Regions from separate parts of the Homo sapiens genome. Here all the other regions are linked to region 1. The links are contacts of gene promoters, found by promoter capture Hi-C in blood cells and fetal thymus (Javierre and others, 2016). All regions are on one chromosome and are shown on one strand. Each heading gives the region's core, a stretch centred on a gene start or on the middle of the fragment in contact. The rest is flanking DNA. Distances are from core to core; before and after follow the strand shown. Region 1 holds the start of RNF14 (ring finger protein 14). Region 2 has its middle 25 kb from the start of FGF1. Region 3 has its middle 6.8 kb from the start of FGF1.

Region 1 (3,938 bases), core at 1,071-3,570:
CTGTCTCTATAAAAAATTAGCCAGGTGTGGTGGTGTGTGCCTGTAGTCCCAGCTACTCAGGAGACTGTGGCAGGAGGATCGCTTGAGCCTTGGATGCTGAGGCTGCAGTGAGCCGTGTTTGCACCACTGCACTCCAGCCTGGGGGACAGAGCAAGACCTTGTCTCAAAAAATAAAGTATGAATCAATGTTTTTTAAAATAGCATCAACTGAAAGATACAGCAATTTCAGATAATTTAAATGTGAAAAAAATATGCAATGAGAATTTACAAAAATCATTTTAATAAAACAAAACTACCAGTCAATTAAAATATTGAACTACAATTGCATTTGCAAATATCCTCCCTCACAACTAAAATATTTTTAATTAAAATGTACATAAGTAAAAAGTTAGGATTTTTTACATTTTAAAAGGTCATACTATGAAATTAAAAATGATTTCATTTTCAAAAAACACTTTTTTTCTAGGAGATGTTAGTTCATGGCTCTGCTTAAGCTGCATCCCTATCTAAGACACAATTACATGTTCTACTTGAGGTCAGTTAGTACCTGTTAATAACAATCAGAAGAAAAGGATATTAACACCGCAGTCTGTATTTCAGCTCAGAGTGGAGTTCATGCAAATCCCATTTATTCTCTAACTGGTGGAGCTGAGACTGCTGAAGCTGGGTAAGAGGCCAAGATGTGGAACTCATACTACATATATTATGAAAATCCTGCCATCTGCAGAAAAGAAATACAAAAGATGGTGTTAGGACCCTCTCCAAATTAAAATTCTGAATTTCCATGATCACTGCTTAAGTCAAACATATCCTAACATATAGCCAATCCTAATCTACAAGTGCATGTTACTCTCCTAGGGCAGGCTAACTGAGCCATGTGGTTAAAGGAGTATTTGCATGTCCCCAGCAATGACTGAGGACTTTTTATCTGTCTGCCCTCAGCTATGGGAGGAGCTAAGGAGGAACACCAAGGTCATATGAAAGTACAGGACACCATGCCCCATAACAAACAATCTCTTCAGTTTGTTTTTTGTTTTGTTTTTTTCTCCTTTCCTCTTCTGCTTCTTGTATTCCTTCATTTGCCACTCCCCTCCAGTTTTTCCTCTCTTGTTCATGAATTAAGCCTGCCAGTGGCACTCAAGGTTAATTTTGGTAACAGAAAAATACTTAAACAAAACAAGAGTACACAAACACAAACTTTTAAGTTTTATTCTAAATGCTTTAGAGCTAGGCTTCTTCACTGGGGTGAGGGGAAAAGGGAGTGTGGTCTATAGATGGGCTACGGAGAATCCTATCAACACCCTAAAATTATATGCAAAAATACTATATACAAAACCATAATTAAAAACCAGATTCTCGGATGTGTAACTCCCAAATGAGATAAGAATGAGATTCAGAATCAATTTACATTAATTGAGCACCTACTATGTACTGTATTAGGTCCTTTCACATTGTCTTATTTTACTAGGTGGGAGTATATGGTGCTAATTGAATTAAGCTTTTTGTTTCTTCCTGTTAAAACATTTGCAAATGGGATGAGAGATTCATTCATGCAGTTTATGGTTTTAGGTTAGTGTTCTCCATCTGACTGCACATTAGAATCTTCTGAGGAGCTGTTTTTTAAAATCTCAATACCCAGGCCACACCCTAGAACAATTAATTCAGGCCTCAGTAGTTTTCCAAGTTCTCCAGGTGATTCCAATATGCAGCCAGGGCTAAGAACTTCTACTCCAAGCAGTTTCAACAGTTCCTCATGACCTACCCTACAAGATTTCAGCTTGTGAAGCTGTCACTTGGAATCCAGTACCTCAATTCAGGTTGCTAACCCCCATTTCCTTCTCACTCTATCCATTTGGTCTTCGGGTGTCCTAGTCTGGGTTCAGCTCGCCACTAGGCGTGCGGCGTCGTTTGGGCGACTGCCCCAAAACAGGGGCAGGCCCAACGCTAGCTATCCGCCCCAACGCTGGGATCAGAGGGCGCAATGCGGATGTGTGAGCTGCTGGCCAGCCTGGGGCGTCCCGAAGGAGCAGGGCCCACACCTTCCCCTTCCTCCTCAGCGTCCCGAAGGGAGTCCCGGCCAGCCGAGCTGCGGACGCCCGGTCCCGGATTTGAGGGACTGAGGCCCAGTGTACAGTCCCAGCCCGGTCCCCTTCTCTGCCTCGCGCGCCCAGAGAGCTATCCCCACCGTACCTTCCGGCCGCCCGGCAGTGCCGAACCCCAAAGTTCCGCCCTCCGCCCTTGCCTGGGGCCCACTCACCGCCGCCAGCCGACCAGGCCTAGAGACGCCCTGCTCAACCGGCGCGCCGCCTCTTCCGTTCTCGGGAGCTGTCAGCTGAGCCAGGCGGATCCCGCTGGCGCGACCGCCGGCATAGGGAGGACTCTGCGCAGCCGCCGTGGTCGCCCCTGCCTCTCGGGCGCCTCCCGCAGGCCCAAGGCGGCGCTGCCGGCGCGACCACCGTCACCCCCACTTACTGCGAGCCCTGTGCTCACAGGAGGCTCTTTTCAGTAGTTCTGATGGGGCCCGAGAATTCGAATTTTTACCAATCTCTAGAGGGGATCATGAGGCAGTGGTCTACCTAGGGCAGAGACTCTCACAACAATCCCAGACCTGCTTCTCCAAGTGGACTAAGCAAGCCTACTTCCTCCCGTTTACCTTCTCAGAAATGCTGCCGGTCTTTCTGGCACTCCACTGTGGAAGCACGCATTCATCGCTCATGTTATAACTGTAACACCGACCGCATTTATCGAGTAGTTAGGATGCTTCAAGCAGTGTGATAAATGCTCTACGTAAATTTTCTATCTTCACTGTAATCTTATGATTTAGCTACCATTTGTTATTCTCACTTTACAAATAAGGAAATTGAGACTTAGGTGCAAGAACTTACCAAGGGTCACATGATTATCGTCAGGCTAAGCAGGAATTAAAATTATACACTTCCTTCCTCACACCATATGCAAAAATTAACTAAATATGGATCAACGACCTAAATGTAAGAACTAAAACTATAAAACCCTTAGAAGGCCGGGTGCGGTGGCTCACGCCTGTAATCCTAGCACTTTGGGAAGCCGAGGCGGGTGGATCACGAGGTCAGGAGATCGAGACCAGCCTGACCAACATGGTGAAACCCCGTCTCTACTAAAAATACAAAAAATAAGCCGGGCATGGTGGCGGGCACCTGTAGTCCCAGCTACTAGGGAGGCTGAGGCAGGAGAATCATTTGAACCCAGGAGACAGAGGTTACAGTGAGTCACTGCACTCCAGCCTAGGTAACAGCGAGACTCCGTCTCAAAAAAAAAAAAAAAAAAGTCAAACACAAAAAGCCATATATTGTTTTTAATTTATATGAAATGTCCAGAATAGGCAAATCCATAGAGACAAAAAGTAGTTTAGTGGTTGCCAGAAACTAAGGCAGGAGGGAATGGGAAGTGACTGCTAATAGATACCGCTAATAGATATGGTGTTTCTTGGGTGATGAAAATATTGTGGAATTAGAGAGCAGTGATAGTTGTATAACTTTGTGAGTGTACTAGAAACCACTGGATTGTATACTTTTGAAGAGTTAATTTTATTGCATGTGAATTATGTCTTAATTAAAAAATTTTTTTAGGTACAAAGCACCGTTCTCAGCGCTTAAGTGGAATACAGAAATGTTGGCTCCTTCTCCTGGGACCCATCAAACTAATGTGCTCCTCACAATCTAATAAGCTCCTGTGTCCGCTTTTTCATATATTTCTTCCTCCAAAAGAGTAACTTGCAGAGCTAAGACTCTAACCCAAGCCTACAGGATTCTAAAGCTTTTACCACCATTGCCTCCCGGGCAGGATTAGATTCATGGGCCAGCAACCCGTGCAGTCACATAGGGCCCTGCACTTAGAAGGGCCCCAGATTTAGAAGTGGCCTGCTCTTAAGAATGATACAATGGACTTTGGGGACTTAG
Region 2 (3,938 bases), core at 528-3,027, 740 kb before region 1:
TGGAGTGCAGTGGCACCAACATCACTAACTACAGCCTTGAACTCTTGGGCTCAAGCGATCCTCCTGCCTCAGCCTTCCAAAGTTCTGGGATTACAGGCGTGAGCCATTGCACCTGGCCCTGGAGTATTTCTTGTGCATAATAAGGGAAAATTTGGGAAAGGATTCTGAATTGTGCAGTACCATGGGTAGGATGGGTTGATGGGTCTACCTAAGAGAAGGCAGGGAGTTACATACTAACGAAAGCAGAATGGATCAGAAGGCGAGAGAAAGAATAAGAGAAACAAGCCAGGGATGAGCTGGGTTTGGGAGAATTCAAGAGATAAATTAAGGAGGACTGAAGTAGCTGCTGGGCTGTTGATATGGTTTGGCTGTGTCCCCACCCAAATCTCATCTTGAATTGTAGTTCCTATAATCCCCACGTGTTGTGGGAGGGACCCAGTGGTAGGCAATTGAATCATGGGGGCGGTTACTCTTTTCTATGAGGGAGATGCACAAAGGGAAAAGAAAAGACACACATGCAATACCTTCAAGGGTAAACAACCTTTATCCCATGTAAATGGCAATGCAGATATAATAAGCAAATGATACAAGCAAATTGCAATGGGAAGGGGAAAAGGGAGAAGATATATATATATAGCCTGGACTACTGGGAGGCTAGAAGTTAATGGCAAGGGCATGCCAACTTTCACCCCACTTCTCCCATCAATATAGACTATATATATATACACACACACTCACCAGACGATGGAGGATTCATCACCAGACCAGAAGCAACAGCCTGGGCTCCAGAGTCGGCCACTACACTTACCAGACTATAGAGGATTCATCACCAGACAGGGAAGCAACAGCCTGGGCTCCAGAGTTGACCGCTCATCCATGCACAGATGAGGAGAGGTCTCATGAAGCTTTGGCGTGGTATGGGACCCTAGTTCTTTTTGTAACGACTTATTTGGCATGAGGCCCAGTCACGAGGGCCCTTCATGACTGGACTCAAGGAACACAAAAAGGTCAACTTGTTTTTATGATTGTTTGTTGTTTTTCAATAACTAACATACAGGAACAGATTTCTCCAAAACCGTCTGGATGAACGCCTCAAGGGGCTCATGCAACCTGTTCTGGGACTTGGTGACCATTGTTTGTGTCCACATTCAATTGAGTTCAAATTTAAGATTTAACTTTTCCTCCACATATCCCCATGCTCTTCTTGAGTTCTCATGAGACCTGATGGGTTTATGAAAGGCTTTTCCCCTTTGCTTGGCACTTCTCCTTCCTGCCGCTATGTGAAGAAGGATGTGGTTGCTTCCCCTTCCGCCTGAGGCCTTCCCACCCCTGTGGAACTGTGAGTCAATTAAAACCTCTTTCTTTTATAAATTACCCAGTCTCAGGCAGTCCTTCATAGCAGTGTGAGAACGGACTAACACAGATGTCATGAGGAGGACTTGAGAAAGAGACAAGAGAAGAGGATTCTTCAGAAATGTTGGTGTTATGAATGGAACCCAAACCCCACCCTTTGGCATCTTTAAGAGATTTCAGTAAAGACATAAATTGATTTAAAAACTGTGTTTTGGTCAAGCATAGCGGCTCACTTCTATAATCCTAGTACTTTCAGAGGCCAAGGTGGAAAGATTGCTTGAGGCCAGGAGTTTAAGACCAGCCTGGGCAACATAGCAAGACTCTGTCTCTCAAAAACAAATTAAAATTAGCCTTATGTGGTGGCATACACCTGTAGTCCCAGCTACTCAGGAGGCTGAGGTGAGAGGATCACTTGAGCACAGCAGTTCGTGGCCTCAGTGAACTATGATTGTGCCACTGCACTCCATCCTGAGTAATGCAGCAAGACACCCAACTCATAAATAAATAAATAAGATAAAAACTCTGTTTTGTATGATGGTCTGGTGTTTATTCAAGGCAGCCTGGACTACTGGGAGGCTAGAAGTTAATGGCAAGGGAATGCCAAGTTTCACCCCACTTCTCTCATCAATATAGACTATAGTCCAGATATTTTAAATTAGTATCCTATAGGGTAGCTGGGTGTGGACCCCAGATGCATTTTATTTGGCTAGTTGAGATTTAAGTTTTTTTTGAACCAACAATTGAAAATTGGGATTTCACATTTTAAAAGCCTGCATTTCCTTTCCTACTTCTTTTGAAAAAAATGGAAAAATTTGGCAATATGAGGCCCTTATTACCACAAGGCAAAAATAGGCTCATGCTTTCTAGTTAACCTCAGTGCCCACCCCTCACATAAGGCATATGTATGCATGTATACCTGGCCCACTGCCTGCATTTGCAGGTGGACCTTGGAGATATTGTGGGTTTGGTTCCAGACTGCCGCAGTAAGGCAAGTATTGCAACAAAGTGAATCATACAAATTTTTGGTTCCCAGTGCCTATAAAAGTTATGTTGACAGTATGCTGTAGTCTAGTAAGTGTGCAAGAGCATTATGTCTAAAAATGTACATACCTCAATTAAAAATACTTTGCTGCTAAAAAAATAGTAATGATCGTCTGAGCCTTCAGTGAGTTATAATCTTTTTCCTGGTGGAAGGTCTTGCCTCGATATTGATGGTTACTGACTGATCAGACTGGTGGTTGCTGAAGTTTGAGGTAGCTGTGGCAAGTTATTAAAATATGACAGTAATGAAGCTTGCCATGTCAATGGACTCTTCCTTTCACAAAATATTTCTCTGTACCATATTTGGTAGCATTTAATAACAGTAGAACTTCTTTCAAAAGTGGAGTCAGTCCTCTCAAATGCTGCTGCTTCTGTATTAACTAAGTTTACGGAATATTCTAAATCCTTTATTGTCATTTCAACAATGTTCACAGCATCTCTACTAGGAGTAGAGTCCATCTCAAGAAATCACTTTCTTTGCTCATCCATAAGAAGCAGCTCCTCTTTCGTTCAAGTTTTATCATGAAATTTGTATTAGGGTTCTCTAGAGAGGCAGAACTTATAGGATAGATGTATAAATGAACGGGAGTTTATTAAGGAGTACTGACTCACATGATCACAAGGCGAAGTGCCACAATAGGCCATCTGCAACCTGAGGAGCAAGGAAACCAGTCCAAGTCCCAAAACCTCAAAACTAGGGAAGCTCACACAGACACACCCAGGAACAATACTTTGCATCCTTCAATCCAATCAAGTGAACACTCAGTATTAACCGTTACAAGATTGAAGCAATTCAGGCACATTTTCAGGCTCCACTTCTAATTCTAGTTTTCTGTTTCCAGCACCTCCGCAGTGACTTCCTCTAGTGAAGTCTTGAACTCCTCTAAGTCATCCGTGAGGGTTAGAATCAACTTCTTCCAAACTCCTGCTAATGTTGATATTCTGACCTCCTCCCATGAATCGTGAATGTACTTAAGGGCATCTAAAATGGTAAATTCTTTGCAGAGGGTTTTCAATTGATTTTGCCCAGATCCATCAGAGAAATCACTATCTATGACAACTATAGCCTTAAAAAATGCATTTCTTAAGTAATAGGACTTGAAAGTTGAAATGACTTCTTGATCCATGGACTGCAGAATGGATGTTGTGTTAAAAGCATGAAAATATTACTCTCCTTGTACATCTCTGTCAGAGCTTTTGAGTTACTAGATGCATTTGCCAACAAGAAGTAATATTTTGAAAGGAATCCCTTTTTTTCCCTGGAGGAGTAAGTCTCAACGGTAGGCTTAAAATATTCAGTAAACATGCCATAAACAGATGTGCTGTCATTCAGGCTTTGTTATTTCATTTATAGAGCACAGGCAGAATAGATTTAGCACAATTCTTTGTTTTGAGACAGGGTTTCACTCCTGTCACCCAGGCTGGAGTGCAATGGCGTGATCTTGACTCACGGCAACCTCAGCCTCCAGGCTCAAGAAATTCTCCTGCCTCACCCTCCTGAGTAGCTGGGACTGCAGGCACACTTCACCACACCTGGCTAGTTT
Region 3 (3,938 bases), core at 810-3,309, 720 kb before region 1:
AGGAATGTCAGGGATTTCACAAAAAGAGGTGTCTCTGGGACTCTGCAGAGAGTAGGGTGCTTTTTAATTAAACGGGGGTAGGGTGGTCTTTGCGGGAAATGTTGGCTAGAGGGTAGGCTTTAGAATTTAAGCTTGCCCCTTGGGCTGCCGGTCAGTACATTATGGCCCTGCCCTTTCTCCTACCCGCCACCAGGGTGACCAAGCTGGGGTCCTCCCTCAGGGTGTTTGGCAGGATTTGGAAGGCAACCAAATTCTGATCTCAAAGAACACCAAAATCTTGAGATGGTGATTTCTTGTACCATCTGTGCCCCCACATCAAGCCACTGGACTCGGCTGATGCAGTCATCTTTGTGCTGGCAAAACTTTTGGTTCAAGTGTATCTTGTTTCTTTGATGCACACTGGCCTATTCATATGGCTTCATATCTTGGAAAGAGCAGATCCTATTGATTTACGTCATTTTCTTTATCTTTACAATATCCTGTGGCAGTGTGAAAGAGCTGGTGTTCTCACCTTCCTTCCATTGATAGCACAACTGAGGCATAGTGAGAGTGAGTCGTGACCTTTGCACAGAAGGTCCCAGGCCAGGAATGTAAGAGATCTGAGGTCTTTAGAACCCAAATCTGCTTGGTTCTCCATGAGGTTATGATGGTGGGCAGGGTGGGGGGGAATACATATATACAGAGAGGCAGATAGACATAGATAGATAGATAGATAGATAGATAGATAGATAGATAGATAGATAGATTATAGATAGATAGAGATATAGATAAATTCTTCGGGTAAATCTTTAAGAGAAAAAAAAAACACTGCTAGACCCAAGAGAAATGAACACATGTTCACACAAAAACTTGCCCATGAATAACAACAGTATAATAATAGCCAAACAGAAGAAACACCCCAAATGTTCATCAGCTGATGAACAGAGAAATAAAATGTGGTGTATCCATGCAATGAAATATTATTCAGCAATAAAAAGGAAAGAAATGTTGATATGTTCTCCAATACAGAAGAACCTTGAGGACATCACACTAAAGGAAAAATGCTCATGTTGTTTGATTCCATTTATATGAAACGGCCAGAACAGGAAAATCTATAGAGACAGAAAGTAGATGAGTGGTTGCTTAGGCCTGGCAGGAGGGAGGAATGGGGAATGAACTGCTAATGGATATGGGGTTTCTTTGGGGGGTGACAAAAATATTCTAAAATTATAGTTGTGATGGCCGCACAACTTTGTAAATATACCAAAACCACTTAATTGTACATTTTAAATGGGTGAACTTCAGAGTATGTGAAGTATATCTCAATAAAGTCATTTAAAAACCCAAACCAGCCTGGCCAATATGGTGAAACCCTGTCTCTACTAAAAATACAAAAATTAGCCGGGTGTGGTGGCGCACGCCTGTAATCCCAGCTACTCGGGAGGCTGAGGCAGGAGAATAGCTTGAATCCTGGGAGGTGGAGGTTGCAGTGAGCCAAGATCACTCCACTGCACTCCAGCCTGGGCGACAGAGTGAGACTCTGTCTCAAAAAATAAAAAAATAAAAATAAATAATTTAAAAAACCCAAACCACTGCTATTGAAATAATTAACCCCGCGACAGGGCTTTGCCAAAGGATGTGATCTCACCCTGTAAGCTCTGAGAAGCTTGTCTTGTCCCATAGAGCCTGGCCATAGGTCACTCACACAATTCCACTGAGAAGAAGATAGATGGAAAAGATAGGATCAATTAATTTCTCCTTAGAGTCTAAACCAGGAGAGTTTTTTTCCTCTTTCCTGGACAGACATTTTAGATTTTTTAGAATCAGTCTCACTACTTTATTTTCACTTCTGGGTTTTAAATCATGCTTCCAAAAGTGTTTCCCATTCTAAGATTATAAATCTTATTAACTAATGTTTTCCTCTAAGGCTTGTCTCTTTACACTTAAACCTCGGATTCATCAGGAATTTAAATAAGAAACTGGGGATCCAGATTGGGTTTGTTTGTTTGTTTGTTTGTTTGTTTGTTTGTTTTTGCCAAATAGCTAGACAATTATTAAACCAGAAGTTCTTAATTTGGGGTTAAAGTGTGCCTGGGGCATCTTGTAACTTCCTGAAATTAAATGTAAAACTGTGTGTGTGTGTGTGTCTGTGCGTGTGTGTGTGTGTGTGCGTGTGTGCGTGTGTGTGTGTGTGTCCTGGGGAATAGAGCTATAGATCTTGTCAAGATTTTCAAGAGGTTTTGTGACTCAGGAAAACCAGTAGGCTTTCTATATTTCATAACCTGCTTGGGGTTATGTTGCATACACTCCAATATACCAAGACCCAATCTAAACCAACAGGATAGTTGTTAAATCATTACAGGGGAGGCCTGAGAGATCACTCTGTTCTCTGTCACATGTCAAGTGAGAGTTGCACCATCTTTTGGTTTGATGTTCTGCTGAGGCAAAGAATGAGAAGTCTCTCAATGGTTCCTCTTGGGTCTATAAAGCTTTAGTTTGTTGTTGCTGCTATTCTTTTTGAGACAGGGTCTTTCTCTGTCATCCAGGCTGGAGTGCAGTGGCGTGATCTCAGCTCACTGCAACCTGCGCCTTCTGGGCTCAAGCAATCCTCTCACCTCAGCCTCCCAAGTAGCTGTGACCACAGGCACATGCCACCACACCCAGCTAATTTTTGTGGGGTTTTTTTTGGTAGAGAAGGGGTTTCATCATGTTGCCCAGGCTGGTCTTGAACTCCTGGACTCAAGCAATCTGCCTGCTTCAGCCTCTCAAAGTGCTGGGATTACAGGCATGAGCTACTGCACCTGGCCTAAACTTTAGGTTTTTAATCATCAATTGACAAATCAATGGAGATAGTGCACAATTTTAGCTGACAAAACTTGGGGCCTTCCTGTCACAAAGACTTTGAGGAGGCAAGGTTCACAGCCTATAGTCCCATAAATATAAATAAATGATAAACTGAAAACAAAACTGCCATTACAAAGAAGGTGGCAGATCCTATGTGCAGGCTCATGCATTCATGTAATAAATGTATATGCAACACCCACTATATGCCAGGCATCGTCAAGACTGGTAGCTCTCAAAATGCAGTCCCTGGACCAGGAGCAGTAGCAGCAGTTAGAAACTTATTAGAAATATAAACTCTATTTCAGTAGGCCCACCCCAGATCTACTGAATTAGAAACTCTGAGGTTGGAGCCCAGCAATCTGTGTTTTAACAAATCCTCCAGGTGATTCCAGTGCACACTCGAGCTTGAGAACCACTGGTCTCGGTACTGAGTATATAACAGTGAGAAGACAAAGTCCTGCTCTCCTTGTGGAATTTGTATTCCAGTGTATGTGGTAGGGGAGACAGAACAAGTAAGTAAATATTTTATTTATTTTATTTTATTTTATTTTATTTTATTTTATTTTATTTTATTTTATTTTATTTTATTTGAGACAGAGTCTCACTCTATCACCCAGGCTGGAGTGCAGTGACACTATCTCGGCTCACTGCAACCTCCACCTCCCGGGTTCAAGTGATTCTCCTGCCTCAGCCTCCTGAGTAGCTGGGGTTACAGACGCCAGCCAACATGCCTGGCTAATTTTTGTAATTTTTAGTAGAGACGGGGTTTCACCATGTTGGCCAGGCTAGTCTCGAACTCCTAACCTCAGGTGATCCACCCGCGTCGGCCTCCCAAAGTGCTGGGATTATAGGCATGAGCCACCACGCCCAGCCTAAGTAAACATTTTATGAATACAATAATTTTGAGAAAGTAGTAAGTAGTATGAGGAAAAAGAAAGTGGGAGATGTAAAAAGACAGTGATAAGGGGCTGATTTAGAACGGGTGGTCAGGCTGCAGGTGGCCTGAGCTGAGACAAGAATAACAGGAAAGAGCCAGCCAGGCAAATAACCTAGAGGCAGAAAATAAATGCATAATTCTGGGCAGAGGGAATGGGAAGTACAAAGGCCCTGAGCTA

Evidence for each region. Contacts are between HindIII fragments. The CHiCAGO score rates a contact against its expected background, and 5 or more counts as called.
Region 2: a fragment that was not itself captured here is called in contact with the fragment with the promoter of RNF14 in region 1 in 2 of 17 cell types (fetal thymus and total CD4 T cells); the score reaches 5.7 in fetal thymus.
Region 3: a fragment that was not itself captured here is called in contact with the fragment with the promoter of RNF14 in region 1 in 1 of 17 cell types (total CD8 T cells); the score reaches 5.2 in total CD8 T cells.

Annotation. Positions count from the first base shown.
Region 1 is chr5:141,967,487-141,971,424 of GRCh38, reverse strand. RNF14 (ring finger protein 14) reads right to left here and starts at 2,320. Exons shown (of 9, transcript NM_004290.5): 1 at 2,258-2,320; 2 at 548-721. LOC124901095 (a long non-coding RNA gene) reads left to right here and starts at 1,645. Exons shown (of 3, transcript XR_007058977.1): 1 at 1,645-1,817. RefSeq lists an enhancer at 2,138-2,287 and a silencer at 2,398-2,537. The HindIII fragment of the contact is 2,297 bases long and covers 1,501-3,797 here.
Region 2 is chr5:142,708,685-142,712,622 of GRCh38, reverse strand. No RefSeq gene overlaps it. Among named protein-coding and RNA genes, the nearest start is that of FGF1, 25 kb to the right of the region's middle. The HindIII fragment of the contact is 1,740 bases long and covers 908-2,647 here.
Region 3 is chr5:142,690,897-142,694,834 of GRCh38, reverse strand. It overlaps a transcript of FGF1 not described here. Among named protein-coding and RNA genes, the nearest start is that of FGF1, 6.8 kb to the right of the region's middle. The HindIII fragment of the contact is 823 bases long and covers 1,648-2,470 here.